2 separate regions of the Homo sapiens genome follow, and region 2 is linked to region 1. The links are contacts of gene promoters, found by promoter capture Hi-C in human tissues and cell types (Jung and others, 2019). All regions are on one chromosome and are shown on one strand. The core of a region is centred on a gene start or on the middle of the fragment in contact, and the rest is flanking DNA. Distances in the headings are between cores, read along the strand shown. Region 1 holds the start of CCDC54 (coiled-coil domain containing 54). Region 2 has its middle 17 kb from the start of LINC01990.

What was found. Contacts are between HindIII fragments. The study calls those that stand out against the background at their distance.
Region 2: a fragment that was not itself captured here is called in contact with the fragment with the promoter of CCDC54 in region 1 in 1 of the 25 tissues and cell types used here (bladder).

The regions. Positions count from the first base shown.
Region 1 is chr3:107,372,615-107,379,644 of GRCh38, reverse strand. CCDC54 (coiled-coil domain containing 54) reads right to left here and starts at 2,206. Exons shown (of 1, transcript NM_032600.3): 1 at 1,010-2,206. The coding sequence starts at 2,057. The coding sequence ends at 1,071. The HindIII fragment of the contact is 13,990 bases long and covers 1-7,030 here.
Region 2 is chr3:107,410,238-107,417,267 of GRCh38, reverse strand. No RefSeq gene overlaps it. Among named protein-coding and RNA genes, the nearest start is that of LINC01990, 17 kb to the left of the region's middle. The HindIII fragment of the contact is 7,217 bases long and covers 816-7,030 here.

The DNA.
Region 1 (7,030 bases), core at 957-3,456:
CTCTTCTTGGCTATATGCTTTAAACAAACAAACAAAGAAAAACCTATCATATAAGAGTTTATGGTATTATAGTGGTAAGATTTAACTTAGTTCACAAACCCCTTCTTAGATCTTCCCTTTTCCCCTGCATCAAACCTATAGGACATGGTATTTTTCTCCTTTCATGAAAATGTAAAAATTACCCAGTATCATATTGTCTTTCTCCTCTTATCTAATTGTTTCATAGAAAAGAAGCTGAAGTTGAAAGAAAAAGCCAATATTTTGAATATGTTCCTTGCAATAACTTAGCCTTTCAATCCCTTTCATTTTTATACTGCTAACTTTAGTAGCCTTGACAATGGGTATCCTTTTCACTCTATACTACCTAAAGTCTGACCGGGCGTGGTGGTTCATGCCTGTAATCCCAGCTCTTTGGCAGGTCGAGGTGGGTGGCTCGCTTGAGGCCAGGTGTTTGAGACCAGCCTGGTCAACATGGTGAAACTCTGTCTCTACTAAAAATACAAAAATTAGCTGGGTGTGGTAGCGTGCGCCTGTAATTCCAGCTACTCAGGAGGCCGAGGTAGGAGAATCACTTGAACCCGGGAGGTGGAGGTTGCAGTGACCCGAGATTGCACCACTACACTCCAGCTGGGTGACAGAGTGAGACTCCATTTCAAAAATAAATAACAAATAAAATGAAGTCTTGTCAGTAGTGTATGTTTCTGGTATCACAAACCGTATCCACAAAGGCCACGAGGACAAAGTGTATAGAAAACTGACATGGAGGCCACCAAACATACTACACATTGCCCTGGACTCCTTCATTCTTTGTTTCCAATTATCTATGAAAATGGACCCAGGATGAGTCCTCATGAATTGCCTTTGAGAAAACAAGAACATTGAGAGAAAACGAATTACAACAGTTCAATTAGATCATGTGCCTTAACTTACTGTAGACATAGAGAAACTCTGCAGATAGTGGGCCCAGAGTGAGCAAACTACCGAAGAATTCACAGCCACCACACCAATGTGTGAATACTTGGAGCCTCCAGGTTACATTTATTTTGTGCCAAGCAAAGCAGAACATAACTCTATAGTCGAGTTACTTCTTCTTTTAAGGAACAAATAAAGCCGTAAATATTGTTGAAGATGGAGAGACAGATTGTGGTCAAGCTCAAAATGGGCCCAGTGAATGGACAGTATCTCTGGGTTATGACCTGGGGTTCCTCAGGAAGAATGGTTGGCCTAGAAAGAAGCCACTGGATGAATTCTTCTAACTTGGTAGCACTGAGGAAAAATGTCCATTTTCCTCCATGAACAAAAGTTAGCTTGATCCATGTACTGAAGTCTGGGTAAATGTAAATATTTGGCTTTGCTTTTTCAAAGCTCCTTGATGCATTTTGATGGTTACGTTTCTTCAGAGTTTTCATTTGGGGAGAAATTGTTTTTTTCTCAAGATGGTCAGTGGACTTTGGATAACTGGGCACTTTCTCTGGTTCTGCTGAAGAGATTTCCATGTCTGTAGAGGCCAAAGTGTTCTTCAGAGTTGCTGGTTGTATGAGTTTGTAAAGCAGTTCTGTGATTTCTTTACCCCTTTCTCCCTCCAGAATCTCTAGACAATGTATCGTGGAGCAGGAATTCTGAATTTCCAGTTCTGTCACCTTCTTCTTTAATGCCTTGATGTCTTCTTTCATAGAGAGGATATCTTTAGTCGTTGTGCATTGTTTGTCTTCATTAACATTCATTCTGGTTTCCAGGACCTCCATCTGTTTTTGATACAAGTCAGTCTTTTCCTGGACTTTTGGTATCATATGGACAATGTCAGTCATTTGGCTGAAAAGTTCAACTTGAGCAGTTTTAACATCTTGGAGCACTACTGGAAGATTCATTTTTCCGTCATAACTATCATCATCTTGATTACAATCATCAGATGTCACAGTGGGATATCCAGTTGAATCTTGGTGCCGAATCTTACATTTGTGGTAAACATTTTTAAGAGACTGTCTGACCTTGGAGAGATTTGAAGTCCACATCTGCCTAGCAGCAGCTTTTACCCTTTTGGTGTGAAGTGTGTACATCTTTCATGGTGAAACAAGAGGCAAGGTGTTGGAAAACAGAATCACAGGAAGAAATAATGTACAAATGAAATGGTCCTTCTCTTACTATTTGTTGGATGCCTTTCCTGATAACATCTTAGAACACTCTGGAAATCATCAGCCACAGCAATAGACACTGTTAGGTGATTAGCTTCTTATAGAGCAGCCCAACCAGAGAGCTCTGTGAAATAATAGTCAACTGCATGGAATCTTTCATATGGTAATCATTGACCTGCTGCTGATGTCACAATGACTGCTGGCTTAGAACAAACATATTTAACTACAGCAGTTCTCAAAAGTTTTGGTCATAGGGCTCTTTTTGAATCATAGAAATTGTTGAGCAGCCTGAGGAACACAGAAAAACACCTGTTGCTACAAAAAAATAAAAAAATTAGCCAGCCATGGTGGTGCATGCCTGTAGCCTCAGCTACTTGGGAGGCTGAGGTGGGAGGATCACTTGAGCACAGGGGGTGGAGACTGTAGTATGCCATGATGGTACCACTGCACTCCAGCCTGGGCGACAGTACAAGACTCTGTCTCAAAATGAATAAATAAATAAATAAATAAATAAAAATAAAAATGAAAAATTATTGAGGATCACACAGATTTTGTTTATTTGGGTTATATCTACCTACATTTTATAGTAGACATTAAAACTAAGAAAGTCTTAGATAATTAGTTATTAATTTAAATTTAAAAACCCATTACATGTTAACATAAGTGATATATTTTCATAAAAAATAATTTGGTTTTCTAAAAAAAAAGTGAGAAGAGTGGCATTGTTTTACATATCTGCAAGTGTTTTAAATACCTGAATTAATAGAAGATAACTAGATTCTCATATCTGCTTCTGCATTATATCTGTTGTGATATATTATTTTGAAGTATATGAAGAAAAAATAGCCTCATGGAGTTACGTAAATGGAAAGGGGAGAGTATTTTCATAGCTTTTTCAGATAATTGAGGATATCATTCTTTGCTACTTTATGAAAATTTGACAAATGATTTTTTTTAAGAAGTTAGCTGCAATGTGTCATTTTAGGCCAAATCAAAGAAGTTTCATACTCTGTTATATTAATAGCCGCTGGTCTATTTTTTATTTTGAATAGATGCATAATATCATGTATTGGTCATTTGGCAAACAATGGTTCACTGAATTATGTAGGTCTTCCAAATGTCAACTCATTGTATTATATAATATCAAAATATCATTTTCATTAATATCTCCACCAATCTCACCAGAAAAGTCTTTGAGTACTGAGAAGAGGCCAAGCTCATGGTAGCAAATGCAGATTTTTCAAAATTCTAATTTTAGCTTGAAAATCTTGAAATTTATCAAGCTGGTTTATTGTTTTCCTTGAAGTGACAGATTCCCTCCATCCATTTTTTGCAAAAATGCTTGCCAAATGCCCAACTATGAACACTGTAGTTTGTTGTCAGTTTTTTTCAAGAAAAAATAGTGTTCCATGAAAAAAGCACACATTTGTAATTCAAATACTTATGTACGTTTCCTCATGAAAACCAGTATACTTTGTTAAGCTGCAGAAGCACTTATGTTTACTTCCCATTATATCATACATAATATAAAAAAGATGTACTGAAGGGTTGAGATCTAATAAGATTAAAAATTCTTACTGCTTCATTGAGGACATTCTTGAGTGAAACTGGTTTTTCTTGTATTTTTTTCCTTTTCTGATTGAGTCACTGTTAGTCAGTGTGGTACCCCTGCTGTAGTTCATGCTAAGGTATCAACAGTTTTACCCACCATTGCTTTTGCAATGTAATTTTCAACAGGCAAATGTAAGCACAGTGGAAGAGACAAACGGTGTCCTGGGATTATTTTGAAATATTGTTGCCCTCATTGTCACACTTACAGAGTGGTCTCATGACACAAAGCATTCCACACTTTGAGAGCCACTGCCTTAGAATTTAAAAATAACAGCAGCCATTTCTCATGTTCCTTCTTATAGGTTTTTCTACATAACAGTATTTGAAATTCAAACCCTTTGAAATATTAAATAATATTTGGCCCATTTTATATATTGAGGTAAAAACTTAATTTTATTCTCTAAACACATTAGACTGAACACTCTGGAATCAAAATGACGTGTTACTCACATGTCTCTCAAGGAGCAGTCCCATTCTACTCAAAAGGACATTCCCTCTTGGATCCATGCCAATTCCAACCTTCTACCAAATCACTGTTTCTTCTATCTGTGCCCAATTGGAGGGTCAGTGTTGGCCCAGGATTTGGTACAAACAGTGAGCTTTTCCAGCAGTAATTTTAAAATTTTGGCTCATCAATAATATCTGGGATTTTGCCTTACTCTCCTATCTTTCAAATGCTGTTTAGTAACCTTTCGAAAATGTCTAGAAACCTTTCCAAACACTTGCTGAGGAAAATATTCTCCAAGAGGCAGACTATCACAGGAATGGCATTTGGGGCTTGGAAAGGTTAGAGTTCACAGCCGTCCCGTTTACTCTGGCTAAGGCCATTTTATCCGTCGAGTTCTGCAGACACAGTACTTAGGGCCCATACAGTTTTTAAGGGCCAATGAAAATACTTAAGAACAGAAGAAAAAAAAAACAGTGGCTCAGAATACTGAAAGAAAGCTGCAAGATTGAAGCAATAAATGTTTAATGAAACGTCTCTGAAATGTACTATGTCATATTCATTAATTGTTAGATTTAGTATTATTAAAATTTCATTACATTTGGAGGCAATTTGTGTATTACGTATTCTCACTTTCCAAGAATTCCCAGTTAAATGAGAGGGACTGCTTGTCATAATTACTCCCTCCAGGTTAATAACAGCTAAGACTTGTTGGGTGCATACCAGACACTGCTCTAAGTATTAGCTTACTTAACTATGTTCAGAGAAGTCAAGTAACTTTCCTAAGGTAATAGAGCTTAAAAATGGGCAGAGTCAGATTTCAAATGCTTACATTCTGGCTCCAGAGTCCATGTGTTTTACCTCTACTGCCTCACAATCATGATTAAAATATATATTTAGTACAACTCAGAAAAAGATGGACATTTTCTTTTTAAAATCCTACTGTATATTTATAGAAGACTTATTTTATTAAAATTTTGTCTGTTTAGCATTATGAGAAAATTTAAGCTTTCATCGGTTATTTTATTTACCAAAAGCATTTGATACAGAAATTTGTGAAGACTTTAGAAGTTGAACAAGCTCTAATTTGTAGGTAAAAGTGAATATTTGGAGGCTTACTTTCCTTACTGTGGTAGACATAGTAATACAATAATTGGAATTAAAAAAATTAAAGTTTTCAACTTAAAATATGAGTGTATGCTTACTATTTTTATAAAACAAATAAATCTAATAGGCTGATACAAACATAAACCTGTCTGGGTTTCTAACTACTTCCTTCGTAATGTCAATAAAGGGAGCCTTGGCTTATCTGGAGTTTGCCAGGTGGTGAAAAGTTGCACCGGGAGGAGGTAAGCCTATTGATTTGGGCGAAGTTATGAGAGCAGTCAGAAAGTGAATGAATAACGGGAAATAAGCTGACTTCCGCTCTTCGGGTTCCTGCCAAGGGTATGGTGGCATTTAGAAATAAAATAGCACAGTGGTCTGAAGCCTAGTGGGAGACTTCCTGAGTCTACCTGTTCTCCAGGAGGTTGGCTTTCACAGGAATGGTATTTGGAGCCAGAAAGGTTCAAGGCTGTCCCATGACTAACTCAGTGCTCTTACACAAGTTTCTAGCCTCCCACAAGCCTGTAAAATGGGATAATAACAGCACCTAGTTCAGTGACTGGTTTTGAGAATTAAGATGCTGAATAGTTACAAGTCCTTTCCTCCTCATTTCCCACCACCTGTCTCTCACTTCTCTTCTTCCAGATGAAAGGAGATGGTTAACCGTTTTCAGCTTTAGCGCTGCCTGCTCTCTCAATCTCTCACTCTGCCTTTCTCCCTCTTTCAATATGACCAAGACATAAAGTGTGTGGTCCTTGCTGCCCAATATACCATGCAGGGAAAGCATTTCGATTAGAGGCAACTGAAATGCAGCAAACAAGGCTGACACATCAGCCCTTTATCTCTTAGCACAGGGTTTCCCAACCAGCTTTGGTTTCAGGCAGACTGGAGTAGAATAACCACTGGTTAGATGGGTCTAATAATACATAATATTATTCAATATTTTAAATGCTGTGTTTTTGAGTACACTAACTATATATTAATTATGGCAGAGTTTAGATTATCTATATAAATTACATATATAAAAGTCACTCTGGGCCGGGCACGGTGGCTTACGCCTGTAATCCCAGCACTTTGGGAAGCTGAGGCGGGCGGATCACAACGTTAGGAGATCGAGACCATCCTGGCTAACACGGTGAAACCCCGTCTCTACTAAAAATACAAAAAATTAGCTGGGCATGGAGACGGGCGCCTGTAGTCCCAGCTACTTGGGAGGCTGAGGCAGGAGAATGGCGAGAACCCGGGGGTCGGAGGTTGCGGTGAGCCGAGATCGCGCCACTGCACTCCAGCCTGGGCGACAGAGCGAGACTCCGTCTCAAAACAAACAAACAAACAAAAACAACAACAACAAAAAAGTCACTCTGTTTTTTTTAAACATGTTTTTTTGTGTGTGTAGGAGAGAGTGGGATAGTTACAGCTATCCTGCTAGCAATTGAGCATTATGTATAACGTTTGTGTTACACCTGTAGTGATCTACTATTACTCATGTTACCTTAGGGGTCGTGACCACAAAAACTTATTAAGAGTCTTTAACTTCCCCCACAAAATTTAGGGGCCAGGTTCACAAGAATCTGGACCCTCCCACGTGACTATCACCTGTCATGTGCACGGTGGGATAAAAGATTGAGGAAACAGGAACCAGGAAAGTCTTTCGAATTTGATCAGGGTGGGCTGACTCAAGGGGATAAGAATGTGCGAATTCAATCTCCTGTTACACATGCTAAGTAGTTATGAAGGG
Region 2 (7,030 bases), core at 3,175-5,674, 35 kb before region 1:
TTCCTCAGTTGTGTCCAATCTACTAATGAGTCCATCAAAGGCATTCTTCATTTGTAAGTGTTTTTGACCTCTAGGCTTTCTTTTGATTCTTTCTTAGAATTTCCATCTCTCTGCACTATCTGTTCTTGCATGTTGTGTACTTCTTCCAGTAGAGCCCTTAGCATATTAATCATAGTTGTTTTGCATTCCTGGTTGGATAATTGCAACATACCTGTCATAGCTGACTCTGGTTCTAATGCTTGCTCTGTCTCTCTAAACTGTGTTGTTTGCCTTTTAATTTTTATATTCTGTATTGTATGCCTTATAATTTTTTGTTGAAATCATACATGGTATATATGTAAAAGAAGCTCTAATAACTAGGCCTTTAGTGGTGTAGTTTAAGGTATGAAGGAAGAAAAGCATTCTGTATCCTATGATTAGGTCTCAGTGTTTCTGTAGGCCTGTACTTCGCCAGTGCTTCTCAATGCTATTTCCCCTATTAGGCTGGACAGGATGGCTACAGAGGGCTGGCATTGGATATTTCCCTTCCCCTGCGCAGGTTGGGCTCTGATAAAACTCTAGCAGGTTAGCTTCTGGTCCTGAGGACAGGACTTGTTAAAAAGAACAGATAGATTCTTTTTTCATTCCCTCGCCAGAAGCATAGGGAGATTTTTCTCCATTATTCACTATCAGGACATGGACATGGTAGAGTTCCCAGAGGTAAAATTCACAAAGCATGAGGGATCCCCTATGCCTGGGTCCTCCTAAAATTGTAAGGTCTCAGGCTGGTTCTCACTCAGCCTCTAGAAGTTCAAGTTTTCCCGCTCTGCTACTAGTTTAGGCTGAAGTTTTCTAACCTGCCCCTGGGGTTTCTGCTGTGGTAAATTCCAATTCTCTGTATTTGCTTGTTGCTCTCTTCAAGTTTGGGGCAGTGGTTTGCCCTGTGACCTCACTTCTCTGACAGCGCTAAGTGCTGTTGATTTTTCAGGTTGTTCAGCTTTTTGCCTCTTGTTAGGAAGTGTGACAACTTCTAAGTTCTTCACAGGCCAGACTAGAAACGGAAAGTCTCCAGTTCTTTACTTTTTAATCACAGATGTGAGCCTGCTATGCAGAAAAATTGAGGCAATGTCCATATATTCATCTGATTTTTGTACCTAATGCTTTGGAAACCTTTTGGATAAAAATATTAATGAAATATAATTTTTACATTCTCCTGAAATAGAGCAGAATAAGCATGAAAGAAGTACAGAGTAATTCTAGCTTCATGTTGGTATGTAAAACCTGAGATAAGCAAAATTCTAATTTTTAAATCACTCACTATTTGTGTATGGTTTCAAAGGCATTATGAAATGTTTATGTAGACATAATACCAAACATGAACAAAATTCACTCCTACCTCATTTATCCCCTGACTCTTCTCTAGAGCCCTTACTGTTAGTGGCACTGAACCCAGTTTGGTGGTAGAAGGAAGACAAGCACAAGTTGACTACATTTTAAAAAAAATTTTCTTTGTTTGAATAGTCACAAAGAGGTTTTGTTCTGAAGCTATCAAAGTACAAAATGTTCCTAAACTATTAAATATTTCACCAATATGGTTAACTTTTCCACATGGATTATAATTCCTGAAAGCTCAGAAAATATTTTTTGGAGAGACTCTTGTTCTCTGAGACAGCTCTGATTGTTGGCATTCAGTAAGCAATGCATGCTATTTTCCCAATTTTGGCTCCCCAGAAAAATAGGTCCCTAATACCTTATAAGTATTGTTTCCACACTTTTATGCATAGAATAATATAACTCAATGGACATAAGGATCAAAGATGCTATGAAAACTCATAGGTGAGTAAAATTAGTTTTGATTGAGGAATGAAGACAAAGATCATAAAAGCTAATGGCATTAAACATTTTAAGACCAGTAGTATGCACCAACAGCTTTAAAAATCTCCATGCCCATTTGTCTAGGTATTCCACTTCAAAGTTATTGCAATTACAAAGTTATTCATCATAACACTATTTAAAACAGCAAAACAACTAACATCTGGGAAATAGGAAAAACCAAGTAAAAATGTGATCCTGTCAATAGAAAGCCATGAAACCACAGGAATAACTTTGAAAATGTTTGTCTTCCATGCCATTAGCTTCATTATCTTTTTGATCCTTTGACTAAGGGTAATTTCACTCACCTATAAACTTGTACATTATTTTTGATCATTATGTTTATCAGATTACAGAATTTATGTATTTTATTGACACCCATTAAACTATAAACTTGTTGAAGTGAGGGATTTTGTCCTTCTCATCTATTTTTTTAACATGGCATATACCATTATATTCTTCGAGAAAAACATAAATGAGAGACAAAGTCTGTCAAATGAATTTCAGTTACCATGGTTTAATAAATAGTACCAGTACCCTCATAACATGGTTCAAGTTTTAGTTACTAAGGTATATTATCAGTGACTAATTACATAAGATACAAACTTTGTTGCTGGGGACAATGTCACCTGCAGTATGTTGCAGTGTCCAGGAAGTGAACTAAAGACTATGGCTGCCATGTCAAATCCTCCAGTAGAACACTCACTCTTCCCTCTAGTTTTTTTTTTTTAAATCATGACAGAAAACACATAATATAAAATATATTCTCTTAATCATTCAAAGTGCACAGTTCAGTGGTATGAACTATATATTCATTTGTTGTATAACAGTTCTGTAGGACATTTTGATCTTGTAAAACTGAAACTCTATACCCATCAAACAACTGCTTATTTTTCCCTCCCCTCAGTCACAGGAAACCACCATTCAACTTTCTGTTTCTATGATTTTGTCTGCTAGATATTGCATGTAAGTGGAATTGTACAGTATTTGTCCTTCTGTGACCCTCTAGTTATGTTGTGTACCTAATTTGTCATGTGGCCATCTCACAGAGGGAAGGATGAAGAAAGGGAACCATGTGTATATACTGTATTAAATATTGGTTAAGATTATTTTTCTGATTTTTCAAAACAAAAATTTATAATTAAAAGTTCTCACGTTTTCTTTCTCCAGCCTAATAGGTGCTTTTGTATTAACCCAATGTCAATACCCTCTAGCCAGAAACCCACCTGTAGCTGAAAAAGTTGAGTTTATTTCTCACTGCAGCAAGACAAAAATCATGCCAAGGGAACTGTTTCAGTAAGAGGATGTTAAGAAAGGTGTATTAAAGAACTGGGGCTTTGAATGGGTGATTTTGAAAAGAGTCTAGGGAAACAATTTATTCTGCATAACTGCTGTCAGGAAGTGAAGGAAATTCTATGATTGGGTATCTCAATAAACCTTATTTATAAAGAAGGCAGGTGTATTAGACCATTCTTGCATTACTGTAAAGAAATATCTGAAGGCTGGGCGTGGTGTCTCACACCTGTAATCCCAGCACTTTGGGAGGCCGAGGTGGGCGGATCACTTGAGGTCAGGAGTTTGAGACCATCCTGGCCAATATGGTGAAACCCAGTCTCTACTAAAAATACAAAAAAAATTAGCCCGGTGTGGTGGCGCATGCCTGTAGTCCCAGCTACTCGAGAGGCTGAGGCAGGAGAATCACTTGAGCCCTGGAGGCAGAGGCTGCAGTGAGCCCATGTTGTGCCACTGCACTCTAGCCTGGGCAACAGAGCAAGACTCTGTCTCAAAAAAAGAGAAGTATCTGAGACTTGGTAATTTATAAAGAAAAGAGGTTTAATTGGCTCACGGTTCTGCAGGCTTTACCAGAAGCATGGTGCTGGCATCCGCTGGGCTTCTAGGGAGGCCTTAGTAAGCTTGTAATTATGGCGGAAGGCAACAGGGGGGCAGGCATGTCACATGGTGAAAGCAGGAGCAAGTGAGAGAGAGTTGTGTCTGGGAGGTTTCACACAATTTTAAATGACCAGATCTCACGAGAACTCGCTATCAGGAAAACAGCACCTAGCCATGAAGCCTCCACCCCTATGATCTACACACCTCCCACTAGGCCCCACCTCTAGCATGGCGAGGGATTACAATTCAACATGAAATTTGGGTGAGAACAAAGATCCAAACCATATCGCAGATTAGAGCAAGGGTAAAGCTATAATTAGTAAAGAAGCAACAGGGACTCATATTAGCTAGGAGAAAGAGATGTTTGGTATTTTGTGGGGTTTCTACAGTGGCCTTATTTTGATGTGTGCTTAGATAAAATAATGAAGTGGACTTATTAATATTTTGTTTCACTTTATCATGGTCTCAGAGTGGCTTTGTCTCATGCTGCTGTTTTGTGAGATTGCTAATGTTCAACAGAGCAACAATATGGCCTACCCACTAGCATTGGTCCAGTTTGTGATAACACTGAGACCTGGTTGTGTCAGATTAGTTTCTGGATTTAGGGCCTGCTATTTTCTTGTTCATCACTTTCATAGACATGTAGGGTTGAAATCAGAGAAATCTATGATGCAACTTCAATTTCGTTATTTACTTTCAGTGTGATCATGGGCAAATGATTTACTCTCTGTCACTTCAATTACCTATATGGTACCTACCTCAAAGGAACACAGTGAGCATTAAATGAGATAGAGCATCTGGAGTGCTGAGTAGATTGATTTGTACTGAGAGCTCATGTTAACAATAACTGCCTTTTATTAGCTCTCTCTCATGGAGGATTCTTTTTTTTTTCCATTTAAAAAACACACGTTTTGGGTGACTACCAAGTGTCAGGCACCACGCCAGGGATGCAATGATGAACAAGTCATCTGTGGCCTCTTCCTCACAGAACCTGCAGCCTAGCATGAGTAACAAACAACTAGACAGGCAATTTAACAGAGGGTAAAAGTTTCTACGAAAAAGGACTATAGGAGTCTCTAAAATAGCTTAGCAGGCCTGGAGAACTGTCTCTAGAAAAAAGTGTTGCTTATGATGATATCTAACAAAGGAACAGGAGTTATCTGTGATCTAGGTAGAAGGAACAGCATAAGCTAGGGCAGAAAAGTGAAAGAGAATATGGCACAGCCTGTTCGATGGAGAAACAAACAAATAAATAAAAAACAAAAACAGAAAGAAAAAGACTTGCACTTTTTAAGTGCACTCCATATGAAACAATTTCTTTTCAAGTCTTGTACATAATTTGATTTGCCACTGCAATAGTGATTACAGCTGATTAATTAATGATGATACAATGCTTTGAAAATACAAAGTGCAGCACATTTGCTAACAAAATGATGATTAATTAGCATGATTACTGTTTCAATATAGCCTCTGTTTACTATCTAAACTTGGACTTCCAAATGTCTGCTTGCCTTCACGCACCAAAGACAGCTGCTTCACAATGGTTTGGAGGCTATTTTTGGCCTTTCCTTCCCTGGGTTGTGAATGAACGTAGGACTAATAATGAAAGAAAAAAAAAGTGGTCAGAATGACTTCCAAGGTTTTTGCCTAACAAGGAATTCTACAATGTCTACTATTCTCTCTCTCTCAGTTTCTGCTACACTAAAATCATGCTGAAAAGTACTGGGAGTCTGTGCTATGGGGGCTTCTGGTGAAGCAAATGCACTGAGGGCCATTGTTTCAGTATATAAACTTTCTTGGTTAGGGTCCACTAAATAAACATAACTTCTTGTGGATTTCAATATCACCCCACTATTACATACAATTTCTAGAGAAATAACAGACTAAATGGGATTCTAGCAGTGTGTATTTTTCCCTTGATAAAAAATACTTCAGTGTTATCATCTTCTGCTATTAATTAAAAAAATACAGAAACAATGCTGCTGAGTTTTAATTGTTGATGAACATCTAAACGTGCTTAGTTTACAGTTAAACACTATCCAAAGTGATTTTTTGTTTCTGTAATGAATAACCAGGATAAGCAGATGTGGGTGGCAGCATCCTATTGATAAAAATCATCTTGGTTAATAGACATAGGTGCATCAAAATGTTGGATTTAACCCAGTCTGAAGGAAGTTTCTAGTGAAATATTGTTCTTTTTAGGATGTAGAAAGTTCTCTTCAGTTGTCCAGTGTGTCAAGTGACTCCTGCATTTGGCTGGCTGGCATGATAAGCTGATAGGAATTTGGCTTGGAGAGGCTGCACTAACAGATATTGGCCTAAAAATGGTTGCAGACATGTTTTCATTGCAGGTATTAAATGCTTGCAGCTATCTTTTGGCCTAGAGTATGTTCCTATTATTAGGTTAGTTCAAAAGTAATTGCAGTTTTCACCATTAAAAGTAATGCCACTAGATCTGCCTTAATAATAAGAACTTATTTCTGGTAGGGGAGAAAAGACAAATTCACAAATATATTTACATTAAATTGAGCAGTTTGTGGTAAGTATAGTAGGAGATTATATAAATCCATGCTGAAAAGAAAGCAGAGAATGGAGGAATTACTCTGAGCTGGGTATTTTTCATGGTGGAGGTGCCTTTAGGAATGGGTCTTGAACAATAGGAAGTATTTCAAATAGCAGAGATGGTATTATGGATTGGAAGAGGGAGAGCATTCCAGGACTTGGAAATGGCATTGAGCAAGAATGTGGGGAAAAGCTGGCAATAGTTATTGCGTCCTGTCTATTCTGTCTCTGAACTCTCATTACATTTAAAGTCATTATTGATAGGTAAGGACTTACTACTGACATTTTGTTGTTTTTCTGCATGTTTTGTGTATTCTTTTTCCCTTCTTCATCTCTTCTATCTTCCTTTGTGATTTGATACTTTTCTATACCGGTAAGCTTTGATTCCTTTCTCTTTGTCTTTTGTGTATCTACTATAGGTTTTTGTTTTGTGGTTATCATAAGGCTTACATAAAACACCTTATAATTATATTATTCTATTTTGAGATAACAACTTAACTTCAATTACATGCAAGAGCTCTGCACATTTACTCACCCACATTTTGTTTTTGATGTCACAATTTACATAATTTTATATTGTATATTCATTAACAAATTATTGTAGTTACAGCTCTTTTTAATATTTTGTCTTTTAACCTTTGTACTTGAGTTATAAGTGATTTACACACCCTCATTACAATATTAGAGTAATTGGAATTTGACTATATATTTACCTTTACTGATGAGT